Regions from separate parts of the Homo sapiens genome. Here regions 1, 3, 4, 5, 6 and 7 are each linked to region 2. Evidence: promoter capture Hi-C in 16 types of primary human blood cells and fetal thymus (Javierre and others, 2016). All regions are on one chromosome and are shown on one strand. Each heading gives the region's core, a stretch centred on a gene start or on the middle of the fragment in contact. The rest is flanking DNA. Distances are from core to core; before and after follow the strand shown.

What was found. The method cuts DNA at HindIII sites, captures the fragments that hold promoters and counts their contacts. A CHiCAGO score of 5 or more calls a contact.
Region 1: a fragment that was not itself captured here is called in contact with the fragment with the promoter of CDR2 in region 2 in 2 of 17 cell types (erythroblasts and M0 macrophages); the score reaches 9.7 in erythroblasts.
Region 3: a fragment that was not itself captured here is called in contact with the fragment with the promoter of CDR2 in region 2 in 1 of 17 cell types (erythroblasts); the score reaches 5.4 in erythroblasts.
Region 4: a contact is called between a fragment that was not itself captured here and the fragment with the promoter of CDR2 in region 2, in 1 of 17 cell types (erythroblasts). The highest score is 10.2, in erythroblasts.
Region 5: a fragment that was not itself captured here is called in contact with the fragment with the promoter of CDR2 in region 2 in 1 of 17 cell types (erythroblasts); the score reaches 7.6 in erythroblasts.
Region 6: a contact is called between a fragment that was not itself captured here and the fragment with the promoter of CDR2 in region 2, in 1 of 17 cell types (erythroblasts). The highest score is 5.3, in erythroblasts.
Region 7: a contact is called between a fragment that was not itself captured here and the fragment with the promoter of CDR2 in region 2, in 2 of 17 cell types (erythroblasts and fetal thymus). The highest score is 10.5, in erythroblasts.

Annotation. Positions count from the first base shown.
Region 1 is chr16:21,181,305-21,184,004 of GRCh38, reverse strand. No RefSeq gene overlaps it. Among named protein-coding and RNA genes, the nearest start is that of LDAF1, 24 kb to the right of the region's middle. The HindIII fragment of the contact is 1,183 bases long and covers 709-1,891 here.
Region 2 is chr16:22,373,185-22,375,886 of GRCh38, reverse strand. It overlaps CDR2 (cerebellar degeneration related protein 2), which reads left to right and starts at 1,268. Exons shown (of 5, transcript NM_001802.2): 1 at 1,268-1,656. The coding sequence starts at 1,578. CDR2-DT (CDR2 divergent transcript) reads right to left here and starts at 1,000. Exons shown (of 3, transcript NR_148970.1): 1 at 664-1,000; 2 at 327-560. RefSeq lists enhancers at 496-545, 886-965 and a silencer at 1,506-1,735. The HindIII fragment of the contact is 4,746 bases long and covers 417-2,702 here.
Region 3 is chr16:21,198,741-21,201,514 of GRCh38, reverse strand. ZP2 (zona pellucida glycoprotein 2) reads left to right here. Exons shown (of 19, transcript NM_001376232.1): 14 at 1-146; 15 at 1,637-1,772; 16 at 1,849-1,945; 17 at 2,653-2,736. Among named protein-coding and RNA genes, the nearest start is that of ZP2, 11 kb to the left of the region's middle. The HindIII fragment of the contact is 6,462 bases long and covers 1-2,774 here.
Region 4 is chr16:21,270,029-21,272,811 of GRCh38, reverse strand. The region is part of intron 3 of CRYM (crystallin mu); the gene reads left to right. Among named protein-coding and RNA genes, the nearest start is that of CRYM, 6.9 kb to the left of the region's middle. The HindIII fragment of the contact is 3,636 bases long and covers 1-2,783 here.
Region 5 is chr16:21,309,553-21,312,455 of GRCh38, reverse strand. It overlaps the pseudogene ABCA15P. Among named protein-coding and RNA genes, the nearest start is that of CRYM, 33 kb to the right of the region's middle. The HindIII fragment of the contact is 2,518 bases long and covers 232-2,749 here.
Region 6 is chr16:21,220,740-21,223,439 of GRCh38, reverse strand. No RefSeq gene overlaps it. Among named protein-coding and RNA genes, the nearest start is that of ZP2, 11 kb to the right of the region's middle. RefSeq lists enhancers at 231-756, 757-1,281. The HindIII fragment of the contact is 4,138 bases long and covers 1-2,700 here.
Region 7 is chr16:21,288,519-21,291,218 of GRCh38, reverse strand. LOC105371125 (a long non-coding RNA gene) reads right to left here and starts at 749. Exons shown (of 3, transcript XR_950905.3): 1 at 717-749; 2 at 1-41. It also overlaps a transcript of CRYM not described here. The HindIII fragment of the contact is 3,512 bases long and covers 1-2,700 here.

The sequences.
Region 1 (2,700 bases), core at 51-2,550, 1.2 Mb after region 2:
CATAGTACCCAATAGTTTTTTTTATCTTCACTCTCCTCCCACCCTCCACCTCCATGTAGGCCCCAATGTCTGTTGGTCCCATCTTTATTTCCATATGTACCCAATGTTTAGCTCCCACTTATATGTGAGAACATATGGTGTTTGGTTTTCTGTTCCTGCATTAGTTCACTTAGGATAATGGCTTCTAGCTGTATCCATGTTGCTGCAAAGGACACAATCTCATTCGTTTTTATAACTGTGTAGTATTCTGTGATGTATATGGCACCACATTTTCTTTATCCACCATTGACGGACATTTTTTGATTCCATTTTTGCTATTGTGATAGTGCTTTCCACAGTGACTGAACTAATTTACTTTCCCACCAGCAATGTGTAAGCATTCCCTTTTCTCCACAAACTCGCCAGCATCTGTTATTTTTTGACTTTTTAGTAATAGCCATTCTGACTGGTTTCAGATGGTATCTCATTGTGGTTTGCTCTTTGGGTCCATTCAATTCCCCTAAAAATCATTTACAATCCTTCAAGTTGCCTACATTTCCCCCATCTCCCTCTATGTAAGTTTCAATCATTTGGCCTTTCTTTGAGTCTCATATTTTTGGAACTCCTGTGTTCATGTGCATGTTAATAAATTTGAATATGCCTTTTCTCCTGTTCATCTGTCTATTGCCAGTTCATTTCAGGGATCCTTCAGAGGGTAGAGAGGAAGCTTGTCCTTCACTCCTACAATAGTGTCACTATCCACTACTGGCTCAAGCTAAAAACCTAGGTGCCACCTTGTGTCCCCCTTTCCTTCTCCATCATCACCAAGTGCTGCTGGCCCTCAAAATGAGGAAGGTCTCCATTACATTTGCCCTAATTTTTTTTTTTTTTTTTTTTTTTTGAGAGAGAGTCTCGCTCTGTCGCCTAGGCTGGAGTACAGTGGTGCGATCTCAGATCACTGCAATCTCCACCTCCCAGGTTCAAGTGATTTGCCTGCTTCAGCCTCCTGAGTAGCTGGAATTACAGGTGCCCGCCATCACACCCAGCTAATTTTTGTATTTTTAGTAGAGACGGGGTTTCACCATGTTGGCCAGGCTGGTCTTGAACTCCTGACCCCAAGTGATCCTTGGCCGCCCAAAGTGCTGGGATTACAGGCATGAGCCACTGTGCTCAGCCTAGTGTAAGTTTTAAGTCACAATTATCCTCTCTGCTCTTGGGCCTCCATAGACCTCCCAACTAGCCTTCCTGCTTTAAATCCATTGGCCATGGAGTGATCTTTAAAAACCCAAGTCTGATCACGTCACTCTCCCATGTAAGATTCTTCATTGTCTTTCCTTTGCTCTTTGGCATAAACCAGTGGTCCTCAACCTTTTTGGCACCAGGGACAAGTTTTGTGGAAGACAATTTTTCCATGGATGAGGCGTGGGTAGGGGGGTGGTTTCAGGATGATTCAAGTGCATTCCATTTATCGTGCAGCTTATTTCTATTATGATTACATTGTAATACATAATGAAATAATTACACAACTTACCATAATGTAGAATCAGTGGGAGCCCTGAGCTTGTTTTCCTACAACTAGACAATCCCAACTGGGGGTGACGGGAGACAGTGACAGATCATCAGGCATTAGATTCTCATAAGGATCATGCAACCTAGATCCCTTGCATGTGCAGTTCACATGAGGGTTCATGTTCCTATGAGAATCTAATGCCACTGCTGATCTGACAGGAGGTGAAGCTCAGGCAGCAATGCTTGCTCACCTGCTGCTCACCTCCTGCTGTATGGCCTGGTTCCTAACAGGCCAAGGACCGGTACTGGTTGGGGACCCCTGGTGTAAACTCACTCCATGAGGTCCTGCATGATGAGGCCCAGCCATGCTGACATCATTTTTTTCCCTTAAACACATTAAGCTTCTTCCCATCTCTGGGCCTTTGGGATACTGTGCCCTCTGCTAGGAACACCCTCCCTGTGTGCTTGGCATGGTGACAACTCATGTTTTGGTTCAAATAGAAGAAATCTCTGATTGCTGTGGCTAAAGCATGCTCTCCCAATTACTTACCACCCTTTTACTTATCTTCAGCGGAGTTGGTCTAATATTTTGTTTACTTGTTGTAGCAAGGTGGACTACTAAGGACCCTAGTAAGGACTCTTAAGGCAGAGCCCATGGTCCCCTCTGTGGTTTACCTGCCCTTGGGTGATCCCCTCCTCATGAGAGTGGGTGGTGGTTTCTGGGACTCGTTTCTAACCAGCAGAACACAGATAAAGTGATCCAGTGTTCATGATTGTGCATGCATGATTACGTTCCCTAAGAATGTAACGTCTATCTTGCTGAGAGGCTCTCCCTTGATGGCTTTGAAGAAGCCATTGACCACACTGAACTGTCATGGGGAGGGGAATATGCAGCAAGGAATGGAGGGCTTAAGTCGTGTTGCCAGCTGGATGCTGCCAACAACCATGTGAGCTTGGAATGTGGTCCTTCCCCAGTCAGACCCCAAATGAGAACACAGCCCTGATGACACTGTGATCACAGGCTTACAAAAGATCTAGCCAAGCCATGCCTGGACCCCTAACACATGAAGAATGTGAGATAAGAAATGCCTGTTCTTTTAAGCCAATAGTTGCTGGTAAACTGTTACATAGCAACAGATATGCTTGCTCACTCACTCTTGCATTAGAAAGAAAACTTCAGAAGGGAGACCATTGCATTCTTCATTATTAAAG
Region 2 (2,702 bases), core at 19-2,518:
GGGATTACAGGCGTGAGCCACCGTGTCCAGCCTCGGAAAACTCTTAATTGCTTCCCATTTTTAGTTCTGGCAGCTCTCTCCATATTTGTGGAAACTATTCATTGGATTATCAATGTAAGGTATTATCTGTCGACTCACTTCTAAAATAGATCAGGATTTAACACTCCTCTCCACCTCTTCCCTCTCTCTGAATTTCTAACAGTTTATTACCTCATGTTCTAGAGATAATCTTTCAATTGTATACTTAAACCTCGATTTTTTTTTGTTTCGTTGCTCAAAGTTAGTTAGATATTGGCCCTGTTGTCTTCCATCAGCTGCACCTTTACCTTTACGTCAAGGTTGAGAACATTGACCTTCAGGTCTGTCATCCTGCTTAAGAGTTTCCGTGCTTTGTCTGCAAGATGGTGCTTAAAGCTTTACCTAGGAGCAGTATTTGCTGGGTTATGTCGGTGGAGGACAGCGTGCTCTGCCTCGCTGGCTACTAAGTGCTGGAGCTGCAGCCTGTCCCCTCCAGGTGCAATGTCACGTCCCCAGATGCTTAACTTGTGGTCTAGGGGTACCTTTTAAAAATCGTTGCAACACTGCTTACAATTTTCGCCCTCCAAGTGGACAGCTTCGGGCATCCCTCACCGCCCCAGATTCTCAAGGGGGTCTGGTGCCCACCGTTTTATGTAGCGTGAGTTTAATTCCCAGGGCTCAGATGTCAAGGAGACAAGAGCTACCGCTCAGTGGGCGTTTTCTCAACCCAAACTCCCGATCGACCTCGAGTCTCCCCGCCGGACCCGGAGCAAATCTCAGAGTCAAGATGCGAGAAGGGGTGGCCGGGCGGCGGACCTCAGGCTTCCGGCACCCTTGCGCTTCCCGCCGGCACGAAGGACTCCCCTGGACAACCGCCCGCCTCTCAGAGGCCGGAGTCCTAGGCCCTCCGGCCTGCGTTGCCTGTCCACAGACGCGCCGGCCTCGGGACACCCACCACAGGGGTAAGACGCGCCTCTGCCAGCTCCCCAGCCCGAAACCCAGAACGCCCTCCTAGGAGCCTCACAGCGCAGATCAGGGGACGGGCTTTCGGCCGCACCCCTTCACTCTTTCCCCGCCTTCTTTGTTTATTCCGGACCCACCATTGGCTGCTTGCCCTCGATACCGGGCGAGCCGCCGGTCTTTGGAGAGAGGCGATTGGACGAAGTCCCTGCCGCTCGGCCAGCAGCCCGCTCGCGATTGGTTGAGGCGCCGCCGGGGGTTTGAATCGCATCCCCGGCCGGGGAGGGTTCTGCCAAAGTGCCACGTTGGGCCCGGCGGCGGCGTGAAGACTGGCGGCTGCGTGAGACTCCGGCTCCAGGCGTTCGCACCGTAATGCCCGGCCGTTGGGGCCGTCGGTAGGCGCGAGGCGAGTCGAGGCAGCCGGCCGGTCGGCGGCCGCCGGCGGGAACGGGGCTGAGGCGGCGCAGCGGAGTCTGGGCGGCGGCGCGTCCCGCCCGAGGGCGGCTCTGGCTGAGGGCGGAGGGGCCGGGGAAGAGCCCGGGGCAGCGGCTGAGGCGGGACGGCGGCGGGGGCCGCTGCCCCTAGAAGACCCAGCCGAGATGCTGGCGGAAAACCTGGTAGAGGAGTTTGAGATGAAGGAGGACGAGCCGTGGTACGACCACCAGGACCTCCAGCAAGGTGAGGGCGGGGGCGCCCCGCGGGCGGGCGGCGGCCTGGCCCGGGAGGCCCCCGCTGCGAAACTGTTAAAAAGTTGCTTTTTGTGGCGGCGGAGGATGCAGGTGCCGGGAAGGGCTCAGGCTCACCTGGCGGCTGGGCCGGCCGTGCCCGCGGATCCCGCCCGCAGGAAGCCTCGGCACGGGGCCCACGGCCTTGCTAATGCGCAGTTGAATATCAGCCCCGAGGCGCGTGGGGGCCAGGGACGAGCCAGGCACCGTTTTAAGCGCTTTCCGTGGATTAGCTAGTTTAATCCTCACTGCATTCCTCCGAGGCAGACCCGGGTGAGCCAGTGTGTCCCGCAGTAAGTGGCATAGCCCGAGAAGCCGCCCCGTCGCAGGCTGTCTAGCCCAGCGCCTTTCATGGCCAGCGTGGAGGGCCGGCTGCTGCAGGTGGTAGTTGTTTTGCGGCGTAGCGGGAGCTGTGCGCTCCGCACCGTAACTCCAGGAGACAGTAACTTTTTAAAAATTAATGTTTGAGGGTACATGGTAGGTGTATATATTTGTGGGGTACATGAGATGTTTGGATACAGGCACGCAGTGTGAAATAAGCACGTGATGGAGAACGGGGCGTCCATCCCAGCATTTATCCATTGAGGTACAAACAATCCAATTACACACTTTTGTTATCCCATTTTCCATATGAGGAAAGCGGAGATTAAAACGGTAAAGTGGCTTGCCTAAAGCTAAGTGTGGGAGGGAGTGTTTTTTGAACCCACACACTCAGAAGAAGAGTTGTAGTCACTGCTCAAACCCCATCTCTTCCTTACCATCCTAGTTTACAGTTTTTTTCAGTTGGGCGTTAAGCTGTTAGGCATAGTTCACCAGATGCCAATTGAAACGACAGAAGAAAGAGCGCATCTATCTCTGCCACTTTTCTTCAGTTTGCACGCCAGCTTTCACTTAGAAACAGGCCTGCCGATGGTGTCTCCAGAGAACAATCGTAGAGTAGCCCACTCTTTGGGGCCAGTGGGGCCCCTGTTTTTCTTATACTAATAGCAGGAGCTAGCA
Region 3 (2,774 bases), core at 1-2,500, 1.2 Mb after region 2:
GTGAGATTCCTCCGCCAACCAATTTACATGGAAGTGAGAGTCCTAAACAGGGATGACCCCAACATCAAGCTGGTCTTAGATGACTGCTGGGCGACGTCCACCATGGATCCAGACTCTTTCCCCCAGTGGAACGTTGTCGTGGATGGGTAGGTACTCCCTGTACTATCAGGTTACCCAGCTAATCCATCAAAACTTGCCAGTAATGGGAATAAACCCTCTTGGGCTTTAGAGCAGCATTCAGTCATGTGAGATCCAGATTTAGTCCTTGTTTTCTAATTGGGACTCTTCTGCCTTCTGTTTTTTTTTTTTTTGTTTTGAGATGGGGTCTCATTCTGTCACCCAGGTTGGGGTGCTGCGGCATGATCTTAGCTCACTGTAGCCCCTGCCTCCTGGGTTCAAGCAATTCTCCTACCTCAGCCTCCTGGGTAGCTGAGATTACAGGGGCACACCACCAAGCCCAGCTAATTTTTGCTATCTTAGTAGAGACAGGGTTTTGCCATGTTGGCCAGGCTGGTCTCGAACTCCTGACTTCAGGTGATCCACCTACCTTGGCCTCCCAAAGTACTGGGATTACAGGTGTGAACCACCACACTTGGCCACATGCTGCCTTCCAATCACCTCTTGAATCTTAAGGAATGAGTTCCAAAGCCCCAGAAAGTCTGACTCTACTATGGTGTTGATCATCTGGAAAGACTGGTCTCTAGCCTCTATCCATCTGAACACCTACCATATGCCAGGCACAGTGCTATGTATTCCACATCCACTAGTTGTACTAGTCTTCGTCTTTCATGAAGAAACCCCAGCTTGCTGCCTAAATAACCAGCCCAAAACAATACTTAAACAATGGAGCTTGTATTAGAATATCCATCTGACTCTAGAATCTGAGCACTGATGCTCTGAGGTTGCAGCCACACACTTGTACACATAGGTGTTCAACCTTACAGCTCTCCTGCCGTGTCCTGTCCTACAACTGGATCTCACCCATTCTTATGGAATAGTGTGTACTTGGCTAAAACTGCACCTTTGCTTTCTTGAAGCTGTGGTAGCTCAGTTACTAAGCCTTCTGTTTTGTTTTTGAGACGAGGTCTCACTCTTGTCCCCCAGGCTGGAGTGCAATGGCACAATCTCAGCTCACTGCAACCTCCGCCTCCCAGATTCAAGCGATTCACCTGCCTTAGCCTCCCAAGTAGCTGGGACTACAGGTGCCTGCCACCATGCCCAGCTAATTTTTATATCTTTAGTAGAAACGGGGTTTCACCATGTTGGCCAGGCTGGTCTTAGACTCCTGACCTCAGGTGATCTGCCCACCTCAGCCTCCCACAGTTCTGGGATTACAGGTGTGAGCTACTGCACCTGGCCAAGAAACCAGTGTCTTCTGAAATGATATAATTTGTACTTCTCATGTAGTTGGCAAACAGGTACTGCTAAAATAGTTAAAATATAACTAGTCTATACAACTTATGATTTCATAGGTATTATAGGTCAGGTAAGAAATGCTGAGTAAAACAAAGGTGCTGGTAGAAGGTAAATATGGCAATAGTTCTGAAGATATTACGTATGACTAAATCTGGGCAGACATTGAATTTGACTCCAAGATGCATATGACTGACATCCCTCCCTGGTGCATACCTCCTAGCTGTGCATATGACCTGGACAACTACCAGACCACCTTCCATCCAGTCGGCTCCTCTGTGACCCATCCTGATCACTATCAGAGGTTTGACATGAAGGCTTTTGCCTTTGTATCAGAAGCCCACGTGCTCTCTAGCCTGGTAAGTGATTCAGAAGTCACCAGGGACAGGTTAAATGTTAGTGCATCGATTCCATGTAACTCTCTTCTGTCTCCAGGTCTACTTCCACTGCAGTGCCTTAATCTGTAATCGACTCTCCCCTGACTCCCCACTGTGTTCTGTGACCTGCCCTGTGTCCTCTAGGCACAGGCGAGGTAAAAACTTCAAATTCCTGTTTCTGTGAGTCTAATTCAAAGCAAGTATCAACTTTTTAGAATAGAAGATCTTAAGGACTGGTATAACTCATACTTTATTTACTGCCCAGAGCTCTTGTTGGCCCAGTCAAAACTTGGTCCAGTCTACCTTACTCATGTGACAGGTCTAAGATGAACAGTTTCTTGTCTAGTTCTATAGACGATGAGTTCTTTAAGAATCTATCCTTTTTTTTTTTTTTTTTTTTTTTTTTGAGACAGTTTTGCTCTTGTTGCCCAGGCTGGAGTAAGATGGTGTGATCTTGGCTCATTCCACCTCCAGGGTTCAAGGGAAATGATTCTCCTGCCTGAGCCTCCCAAGTAGCTGGGATTATAGGAACCCCCCCAACATACCCAGCTAACTTTTATATCTTTAGTAGAGACAGGGTTTCACCATGTTGGCCAGGCCAGGCTGGTCTCAATCTCCTGACCTCAGGTGATCCACCTACCTCGGCCTCCCAAAAGTGCTGGGATTATAGGCATGAGCCACCACACCCAACCCCAAGAATCCATCCCACTTCTACAGTAAAGGGCATAACCTCGCCTGCAAAGGCAAGACAAACCACATGAACAAAATACTCCAGAGAGCTTCTACTTCTAAGCATTCCATTGACACACCTCTCGAACCACTATTCCAGAGGCCAAACACAAACTTGATCATCTGTCTCCAGCCACAGGGGCCACTGAAGCAGAGAAAATGACAGTCAGCCTCCCAGGACCCATTCTCCTGTTGTCAGATGACTCCTCATTCAGAGGTATGGACCTAAAGCCTGGAGTACTTCCTGGATTCAAG
Region 4 (2,783 bases), core at 203-2,702, 1.1 Mb after region 2:
TGGGCATGGTGGCAGGTGCCTGTAATCCCAGCTACTTGGGAGGCTGAGGCAAGGGAATTGCTTGAATCCTGGAGGCGGAGGTTACAGTGAGCCAAGATCACACCACTGCACTCCAGCCTGGACAACGAGTGAGACTCAGTCTCCAAAAAAAAAAAAAAAATTCACACCAATAAATATGAAACTACAACGCTGACAAGTGCTGTAAGAGTGTAAAGCAGTATGTCTTGATCTAGCCTGTGGCTGTGTCTCTGTAGGGGATATTTGAGCTGAGATTGAAGGATAATCAGTTACTTGTGAGGGGGAGAGGGGACAAAGCAGCCTAGCATCGTATGGCAAGGAATTAATTCATGCAAAGGCCCTGTGGTTGAAGGAAGTACATGAGCTTGGGAAGCTGCAAGGAAGCCAGTATGGCTGGAAGACAGGAAGTGCAGGGGAACATGGCATGGTGGTATGAGAGACAGCTTTAGAGATAGGAGGGCCAGACCATGCAAGGCCTTGGCAAATGCAAATGAAACAGACTTTCAGACTCTTTAAATGAGAAACCCAGCAGATTCATATACGTGTACTTAATAACCTGCATGCTTAGGAGAAAAGATTGAAGTGCCACTAATGCTGTTTAATAAATCTTATAAACATATGATTAAAAATCGGCTGGGTGCAGTGGCTTACACCTGTAATCCCAGCACTTTTGGAGGCCGAGGCAGGTGGATCACTTGAGGTCAGGAGTTCGAGACCAGCCTGGCCAACATGGCGAAACCCCATCTTTACCAAAAAAAAAAAAAAAAATTAGCCAAGTATGGTGGCACATACCTGTAATCCCAGCTACTCGGGAGGCTGAGGCATGAGAATCGCTTGAACCCAGGAAGCAGAGGTTGCAGTGAGCTGAGATCACACCGCTGCATTCCAGCCTGGGCGACAAAGCGAGACTGTCTCGGAAAAAAAAAAAAATTTTAAAAATATCAATTATCACACTATTACCAGGGCAACAAATTATCAAGTAAGACAACCAATTAGAATTACACATTTAGTTTAGGAAGTTGAAGGTTATTTTTATGGGATACTGTAACAATTTCTGAAGCTCACCTGTACTTTCAAGAATAGATTCATATTAACTGAGAACAGAAGAAAATGGTAACAATTAAGGAAAAAAATCTAATTATCCTTATCAGACAGCAACATAAGATTTCTAGTCTTGTGGATATTATCATTTTGAAACCTTTTCAAATCAGAGACGTTAAACTATATTTTATGGCACAGAATGGTATCTCTCCTTCGGTAGCTGCAGGAGATAAAATTAATTCCTAATATTTCAGAGATGCTGTTTTGCTAGTAATTAGTAGTTAAGAAGACTTTTCACTTTTTAAATATTATACTCCAAAATTCCAGTGAGTAGCATTTTATAAAAGAACAGACCACAGGGAACTCAAAGTTTACTAAATGGAATAGAGAAAAGGCAGAAGAGGGTTTTATTTAATACATATGGTGTCGAGGGCCAAGTGATGTCTTTCCTCTATGCCAGTGGTTCTCCACTGAGCATGAGTTTGCCACCTGCTCCAGAGACATTTAGGAGTGTGCAGACGTTTTTAGTTCCCACAACTTGAAGGGGTGGAAAATGCTACTAACATCTAATGGATAGAAACCAGAGATACTGTTGCACATCCTATAATACACAGGTTGGTGCCCCTCCCCAATAAAGAATTGTCCAGCCCAAATGTTAGTAGTACCGAGGTTGAGAAGCCCAGTGCTACCTCTTGTAGGTCATAGTAGGTATGTACCAGTTCTGTGCAAATAAGACTACCTCTGTCCTCATGGGGCTTAAAGACCTGTAGAAGAAAATCTACAAACAAATAAGTGCTATGGCCTGGTGCATTCTATCAAGGAGGTCAGAAAGGCTTCATTGGAGAGGTGGCACTGGACGTGAGTTGATCACAGAATCCTGCTCTCAAACACAGACACCCTCAGGAGATGCCACAAATGCTAATTCTACATTCGTCTTTAGAGGAAGACAGAGGCAGTGAAAAGATCAACAGAGTTGGCCCAGTGAATATAGCTAGAACCCTGGGAAGGAAGGGCTCACAGAATCCAGGCAGCTCTTAGAAGCAGCTCAGAGCTCTGAGAAGTGGGTATGGCTGAGCATGTACCTGAGATATGAAGAAAGGACATGGGCTTTGGAGTATGGAAGACGTGACTTTAGAGCCACACTGTGCCCTTCAATAGTTGTAAGACCTGGCTAGGTGCGGTGGCTCACGTCTGTAATCCCAGTACTTTGGGAGGCCGAGGTGCACAGATCACCTGAGGTCAGGAGTTTGAGACCAGCCTGGCCAACATGGTGAAACCCCATCTCTATCGAAAATACAAAAATTAGCTGGGTGTTGTGGCGCACACCTATAATCCCAGCTCCACGGGGGGCTGAGGTAGGATAATCACTGGAACCCAGGAGGCAGAGGTTGCAATGAGCCAAGATCGTGCCACTGCACTCCAGCCTAGGCGACAGAGCGAGACTCCATCTCAAAAAAAAAGAAAAGAAAGAAAGAAAGAAAAAGAAATAAATAAATAATTTTAAAAAGTAGTTGTAAGACCCAGAGCAAGTTCACCTTTCTGTTACCAGGGCAACCTCAGTCTCTTCATCTGTAAGAAGAAGATAGTAGGAGTCCCCAACTCGTAGGGTCAATGTCTAGACTAAATGAGATCATGGGGGCAAAGCATTGGCATACATTAGCTGTTCAGTGAAGCCTTCTTCCTTCTTTTCCCACTTGATACGGGGGAAACTAGACACAAAAGGA
Region 5 (2,903 bases), core at 241-2,740, 1.1 Mb after region 2:
GTTTGTGAGTGCACCAATCGAAACTCTGTATCTAACTAATCTGATGGGGACGTGGAGAACCTTTGTATCTAGCTCAGGGATTGTAAACGCACCAATCAGCGCCCTGACAAAACAGGCCACTCAGCTCTACCAATCAGCAGGATGTAGGTGGGGCCAGATAAGAGAATAAAAGCAGGCTGCCCTAGCCAGCATTGGCAACCCGCCCGGGTCCCCTTCCACACTGTGAAAGCTTTGTTCTTTCGCTCTTTGCAATAAATCTTGCTACTGCTCACTCGTTGGGTCCACGCTGCTTTTATGAGCCGTAACACTCACCGCGAAGATCTGCAGGTTCACTCCTGAGCCCAGCGAGACCACGAACCCACCGGGAGGAACGAACAACTCCAGACGCGCTGCCTTAAGAGCTGTAACACTCACTGCGAAGGTCTGCAGCTTCACTCCTGAGCCAGCGAGACCACGAACCCACCAGAAGGAAGAAACTCCGAACACATCTGAACATCAGAAAGGACAGACTCCAGACGCGCCACCTTAAGAGCTGTAACACTCACCGCGAGGGTCCGTGGGTTCATTCTTGAAGTCAGTGAGACCAAGAACCCACCAATTCTGGGGACACTACCATGGCTCCAGGACTCAGTTCTTCACAGACCTAGCTTCTGGACTAGCAACCATACACCCAGCCTCCAGGCTGGCACCAGTGGACACAGGCTACAGGTAAGCCCCAACTAGGCACAATGCTAATGCCTAGTTCTAGACCCCTGAGGATAGCAAAATCCATGGATGCTCAATGTCTTATATAAAATGGTGTAGTATTTGCATATAATCTACACACATACTCCTTATGCCTCAGATTTTCTCTAGATACTCATAGTACCTAATATAAAATCTATATAAATATTTGTTACACTGTATTGCTTTTTATTTGCATTATTATCATATTATTATTTTTTTACTATTTTTGGCCCAGAGTTGAATCTGTGGATGTAGAACACACAGATATGGGGGGGTCAATTGTACACATTCTTCTCAAGCACACACAGAACGTTCTCCAGGAGAGTTCATATGTTAGGCCACAAGATAAATCTTAATAAATTTATGAAGCCTGAAATCCATTTCAAATACCTTTTCCGGCCACAATGGTATTATACTAACAATCAAAAATAGACAGAATTTCAGAAAATGCAGACGCATATGGTAATTAAACAACATTCTCCCAAACAACCAATGGGTCAATGTAGAAATTAAAGGGATCATTTAAAAATATCTTGAGGCAAATGAAGACGGAAACACAACATACAAAAATATATAAGATATATAGTATACAGCAAAAATGGTTCTAAGAGTGAAGTTTATAGCAATAAACATCTACATCAAAAAAGAAGAAAGATCTCAAACACCCTAACATTATAACTAGAAACTAGGTATAGGAACTACAATTGGAAACTAGAAAACCAGGAACTAGGAAAACAAGGACAAACTAAGCACAAAGTTCACAGAAGGAAGGATAAAATAAAGATCAGAGCAGAAATAAATGAAATAGAGACTAAAGAAACAATAGAAAAAAAATCAACAAAACTTGTGAAAAAGATAAAACAGACAAACTTTTAGCTAGAATAACTAATAAAAAAGGAGAGGAGATTCAAGTAAAATCAGAAATAAAAAAGGAAACATTATAATGGATACTACAGACATACAAATTATCATTAGAGACTATGATGACAATTATGTCAACAAATTAGATAACCTAGAAGAAATGAAAAAATTCCTACCTGTATTAATCCTACCAAGTATTAATCACAAAGAAAAAGAAAATCTGAACAGACTGATAACAGACTGATAAAATAGACTGACAACAGACTGATAACAAATAGACTGATTAAAAAAAAAGATTGAATCAGTAATAAAAAGTCTCCCATTAAAGAAAAGCCTAGAATCAGATGGCTTCTGGGCTGAATTCTACAAAACATTTAAATAAGAAATAGGACCAATCCTTATCAAACTCCAAAAAGTTGAAGAAAAAATATTTCCAAACACATCTTATGAAGCCAGCACTATCGTGACACCAAAGCCAGACAAGGACATACAAGAAAATTACAGGCTGGCCAGGCACGGTGGCTCATGACTGTAATCCCAGCACTTTGGGAGGCCGAGATGAGCAGGGCAGGAGTCTGAGACCAGCCTGGCCAACGTGGTGAAACCCCATCTCTACTAAAAATACAAAAATTAGCTGAGCATGGTAGCACATGCCTGTGATCCCAGCTACTCGGGAGGCTGAGGCAAGAGAATTGTTTGAACGTGGGAGGCGGCAGAGGTTGCAGTAAGCTGATATCATGCCACTGCGCTCCAGCCTGGGCAACAGAGTGAGACTCCATCTCAAAAAAAAAAAAAAAATTACAGGCTAATATCCCTGATGAACATAGATGCAAAAATCCTCAACAAAATACTAGCAAACTGAATTCAACAGCATATTAAAAGGATCATTCACTCACCACAATAAAGTGAGACTTATCTTTGAGATCCAAGGATGGTTCAACATATGCAAGTAAATATTAATACACCACATTAACAGAATAAAGGACAAAGACCATATATTATCTCAACAGATGCAGAAGAAGCATTTGACAAAATTCAATATCCTTTCATGATAAAAACTCTAACCATATTAGGCACTGAAGGAATGTAACTCAACACAATAAAGACTATATATGACAAGCTCACCATTAATATCATACACAAGAGTAAAAAATAGAAAGCTTTTTCCAAAAGTATCTCAGGAAAGGTACAAAGATGTCCACTCTTACGACTCCTATTCAATATAGTAATGGAAGACCTAGCCAGAGCAATCAGGCAAAAAAAGAAAGAGAAGCCATCCAAATTGGAAAAGAAGAAGCCAAATGGTTCCTGTTTGC
Region 6 (2,700 bases), core at 16-2,515, 1.2 Mb after region 2:
TCTCCGGGTTGGTCAGGTTAGTCTCGAACTCCCAACCTCAGGGGATCCACCCACCTTGGCCTCCCAAAGTGCTGGGATTACAGGTGTGAGCCGCTGTGCCCAGCCAAAGCAGTTATTTCTTTAGATGCAGCCTGGACTCAACAGTCCACATCACCCCCAGCTGCCCAGAGCTGTAATCCTGACCCTGAGGGCAATAGTTAGTCACTTGCCATTCTCATCACACTAAAGCCATTTCCTTGCACCCAACCGACTTCACTCATGTACAGTATTTGCCTTGCTCCAGTAACCATGTCGAATGGCCTTTTGAGTGTGACAATGTCCTATCATTTCCTCTCACATCAGTTACATCCTAACCCTCCCTCATTTCCTTCTGTGCCAATCAGTCACCAAATACATATTATGCGCCTGTGTGAAAGCTCTTCTAGTCCCCATTTCCAGCATGTCTGGCCAATTCTCAAGCATTAAAAAGGCTGTTCTCTTGGGGATATGGGGATATTTACACCTGCACTCACAGGGTTATAAGACTTAAGCAAACTTGCATATTGCCCAATTGCAGTTGAATTACTGATCAGTAGAAAGAACACACACACACTTGCAGGATAATTTCCCAGGTTAGCCAAGGATACAGAAGTGGCCACGCAGAGCAAAATTAGCTGCTATGTGTTTTAGTAACACTTTATCCTGGTCCCATTGTGGAGAAAAGAGAGATCAGACTGTTACTGTGTCTATGTAGAAAGAAGTAGACATAAGAGACTCCATTTTGTTCTGTACTAAGAAAAATTCTTCTGCCTTGAGATGCTGTTAATCTGTAACCCTACCCCCAACCCTGTGCTCCCAGAAACATGCTGTGTTGACTCAAGGTTTAATGGATTTAGGGCTATGCAGGATGTGCTTTGTTAAACAAATGCTTGAAGGCAGTATGCTTGTTAAAAGTCATCACCACTCCCTAATCTCAAGTACCCAGGGACACAAAACACTGCGGAAGGCCGCAGGGACCTCTGCCTAGGAAAGCCAGGTATTGTCCAAGTTTTCTCCCCATGTGATAGTCTGAAATATGGCCTCGCGGGAAGGGAAAGACCTGACTGTCCCCCAGCCCAACACCCGTAAAGGGTCTGTGCTGAGAAGGATTAGTAAAAGAGGAAGGCCTCTTTGCAGTTGAGATAAGAGAAAGGCACCTGTCTCCTGCTCGTCCCTGGGCAATAGAATGTCTCAGTGTAAAACCGGATTGTATGTTCCATCTACTGAGATAGGAGAAAACTGCCTTAAGGCTGGAGGTGAGACATGCTGGCGGTAATACTGCTCTTTAATGCACCAGATATGTTTCTGTATGTGCACATCAAGGCACAGCACCTTTTCTAACTTTGTTTATGACACAGAGACATTTGTTCACATGTTTTCCTGCTGAACCTCTCCCCACTATTACCCTATTGTCCTGCCACATCCCCCTTTCCGAGATGGTAGAGATAATGATCAATAAATACTAAGGGAACTCAGAGACTGGTGCCGGCATGGTCCTCCGTATGCTGAGCGACGATCCCCTGGGCCCACTTTTCTTTCTCTATACTTTGTCTCTGTGTCTCTTTCTTTTCTTAGTCTCTCATCCCACCCGACAAGAAAACACCCACAGGTTTGGAGGGGCAGGGCACCCCTTCATCCCATAGTGTCATTGCTGTGTGGGCATCTTACACACTCTCTGAACAAGCAGAGTCCTGCCATAGTTAAAAACAGCAGCTTATTTCTTGCTATATCACTGCCCCTTTATATGCAAGCTACTCTAGAAAAACATATATATGTATCTATATGCATGCATAAACATACACATACACATACCACTAATCTCTTACAATATTGACTTCTCTTGGTTCTTGAAACAACCTCAGCATAGGCAAACCCACATACCCATCTAGGATAAAGACAACCAAATGAGTATCCAGGTATTCTCCAACAAGAATCAAACAAGTAGAAGAAAACTGCAGAGCTCGAAGACAAGGCTTTTGAGTTAACCCAATCCAACAAAGACAAAGAAAAACGGATTTTAAAAATGAACAAAGTCTCCAAGAAGTTTGGGAGTATGTTAAATGACCAAACCTAAGAATAATTGGCATTCCTGAGGAAGAAGAGAAATCTAAAAGTTTGAAAAAGATATTTGAGGGAATAATTGAGGAAAACTTCCTTGGCCTTGTTAAAGATCTAGACATCCAAATACAAGAAGCTCAAAGAACACCCAGGAAATTCACCGTAAAAAGATTATCATGTAGGCACATAATGATCAAATTCAAGATGAAGGAAAGAATCTTAAGAGCTGTGAGGCAAAAGCATCAGGTAACCTATAAAGGAAAAACTATCAGATTAACAGCAGATTTCTCAGCAGAAACCCTACAGGCTAGAAGGGATTGGGGTCCTGTCTTTAGCCTTCTTAAACAAAATAATTATCAGCCAAGAATTTGGTATCCAGTGAAACTATGCTTCATAAATGAAGGAAAAACACAGTTTTTTTTCAAACAAATGCTGAGAGAATTTGCCACTACCAAGCCAGCACTACAAGAACTGCTAAAAGTAGCTCAAAATCTTGAAACAAATCTTCAAAATATACCAAAATAGAACCTCCTTAAGGCATTGTCTCACAGGACTTATAAAACAAAAACACAATGAAAAAAAAAACACAAGGTATTCAGGCAAAAACTAACACAACGAATAGAA
Region 7 (2,700 bases), core at 183-2,682, 1.1 Mb after region 2:
GAATGAATCAAGCAGAAAGTTTTTAAAAGTATTATTCCAATCTGCAATGAAAAAGATAATGTTAGCATGCTTTATATGAAATGAACTGTCCCAGGATAACAAAAGTCTCCCAAGTTGATAAAATTAAACAGAGAAAATTAAAAGCTGTAACATTATTCTCACAAACCCTCCGTTTTTAGCATAAAGTATACTACCCCTGATTTCTTGAAACATAGTTTGTGTTGATAATTACAGCTTTGGAAAATCCTTTTGGGAAAGCTGATGTCCATATCATCTGTCTTCCTGTCATCTCATGCGAACAAGAAACCAATGCTGATTATTTCTCATACCGTTTATTTTATATAACCAATGAAAAAGCAAAGATGTGATAGGAAATGTAGCCTAGGACTCAACAGTGGAAAGAGGATAAGGAATATATCATCAGTTGAAAGGACATACATCCTCAGAGAAACAAACTTGATGCTGAGATTCCTCTAAATACTAAATTAAATATGTATAACAGTTTATGAATATATATGAGTAAATAAGAAACATGTTTAAGAGGTAAGGCTCTGAACTGTCACTGTAAGACTTCAAGACTGAGTTCAAATTACTGGAAAAAAAGATGAAATTATAAGTCTGAGCAAAAAGCATATTTGTAAGATGCTTTTGTGGCCAGAATTGGTTCCCTCCCGTGGGTTCTTGGTCTCGCTGACTTCAAGAAAGAAGCCACGGACCCTTGCGGTGAGTGTTACAATTCTTAAAGATGGTGTGTCCAGAGTTGTTCCTTCAGATGTTCAGATGTGTCCCGAGTTTCTTCCTTCCAGTGGGTTTGTGGTCTTGCTGACCTCAGGAGAGAAGCTGCAGACCTTTGTAGTGAGTGTTACAGCTCTTAAAGGTGGCACATCCAGGTTGTTTGTCCCTCCCGGTGGGTTCGTGGTCTCACTGACTTAAGGAATGAAGCCTACAACCTTCGTGGTTAGTGTTACAGTTCACAAAGGTAGTGTGGACCCAAACAGTGAGCAGCAGCAAGACTTATTGTGAACAGCAAAAGAAAAAAGTTCCCACAGCATGGAAGGGGATCCGACATTGCCACTGCTGGCTCTGGTGGCCAGCTTTTATTCCCTTATTTGGCCCCACCCACATCCTGCTGATTGGTCCATTTTACAGAACACTGATTGGTCCATTTTACAGAGTGCTGATTGGTCCATTTTACAGAGTGCTGATTGGTCCATTTTACAGAGTGCTGATTGGTCCATTTACAATCCTTTAGCTAGACACAGAGTGCTGATTGGTGCAATTTTACAGAGTGCTGATTGGTGTGTTTACAATCCTTTAGCTAGACACAAAAGTTCTCCAAGTCCCCACTCCACCCAGAAGCCCAGCTGGCAATCAGTACTCTGTAAAATGGACCAATCGGCACTCTGTAAATGGGCCAATCAGCGCTCTGTAAAATGGGCCAATCAGCAGGATGTGGGCAGGGCCAAATAAGGGAATAAAAGCCGGGCACCTGTGCCAGCAGCCCAGCTGGCTTCAACTCTCACTTTGACAGAAGAGAGGGTGTCACCTGAGTGAGGAGGTAGAGGGTAAGTTTGCACCTAATATGTAAATTCTTATGACATTCTTATGACAAAATGGTAGAAGTATGTCTTTCCCTATCAGTGATTACATTAAATATAAATAGATTACTGCTCCAATTAAAGGATAGAGATTGGCAGAATGGATTTTAACAAGCATGATCCAACCATATGCTACCTACAACAGATTCAATTTAAATTTAAAGGCACAAATAAAAGTTTAAAAGACAGAAAAATATATTCAATGCAAACGGTAACCAAAAGAGAGCTGGAATGATTCTACTAATGTCAGACAAAATAGGCTTTAAGATAAAAACGGTTATAAGAGATGAAGGACATTATATACTATTAAATGGGTTAATTCATGAAGAAGATACAACAGTAACAAACATATATGGTCCTAACAACACAGCCCTAAAATATATGAAGCAAAAACTGACAGATTTAAGGGCTTTCAACAATAGTAGTTGGAGATGTCAATACCCCACTTTAAATAATTATAGAACAACTACATTGATCAAACAAATATAAGATATGAACAACAAAATAAACCACCTGACCTAAAGGTATATATAAAATACTCTACCCAACAATAACAAAATACACATTTTTTTCTCAAGTGTACATAAAAAAATTATCCAGGACAGACCATTAATTAGGCCACAAAACAAGTCTTAATAAATTATAAAAAACTGAAATAATATGAAGCATCTTATTATGACTGCAATGGAACAAAATTAGAAATCAGTAACAGAAGGAAATCTGAAAATACACAAATATGTGTAAATTAGACAATACAAACTTAAGCAACAAATGAGTCAGATAAAAAATCATAAGGGAAATTAGAAAATACTTTGACATGAATGAAAACAAAAATATGGTATACCAAAACTTATAAGAAAAGCAGTTTAGTTTTTTCACATTTATTCTTACATTTAAAACTATTTCAAATAAATAATCTAGTCTTCCACCTTAAAAACTGGAAAAAGAAGAGCAAACCAAACCCAAAGCCGGTGGAAGGCAGGAAATAATAAAGACTAAAACAGAGATAAATAGAGAATGTAAAAACAACAGGCCAGGGAAAATATACAATCCCTTTAAAGAATCAACACAAATCAAAGACCTTTATATTGACTGACCAAAA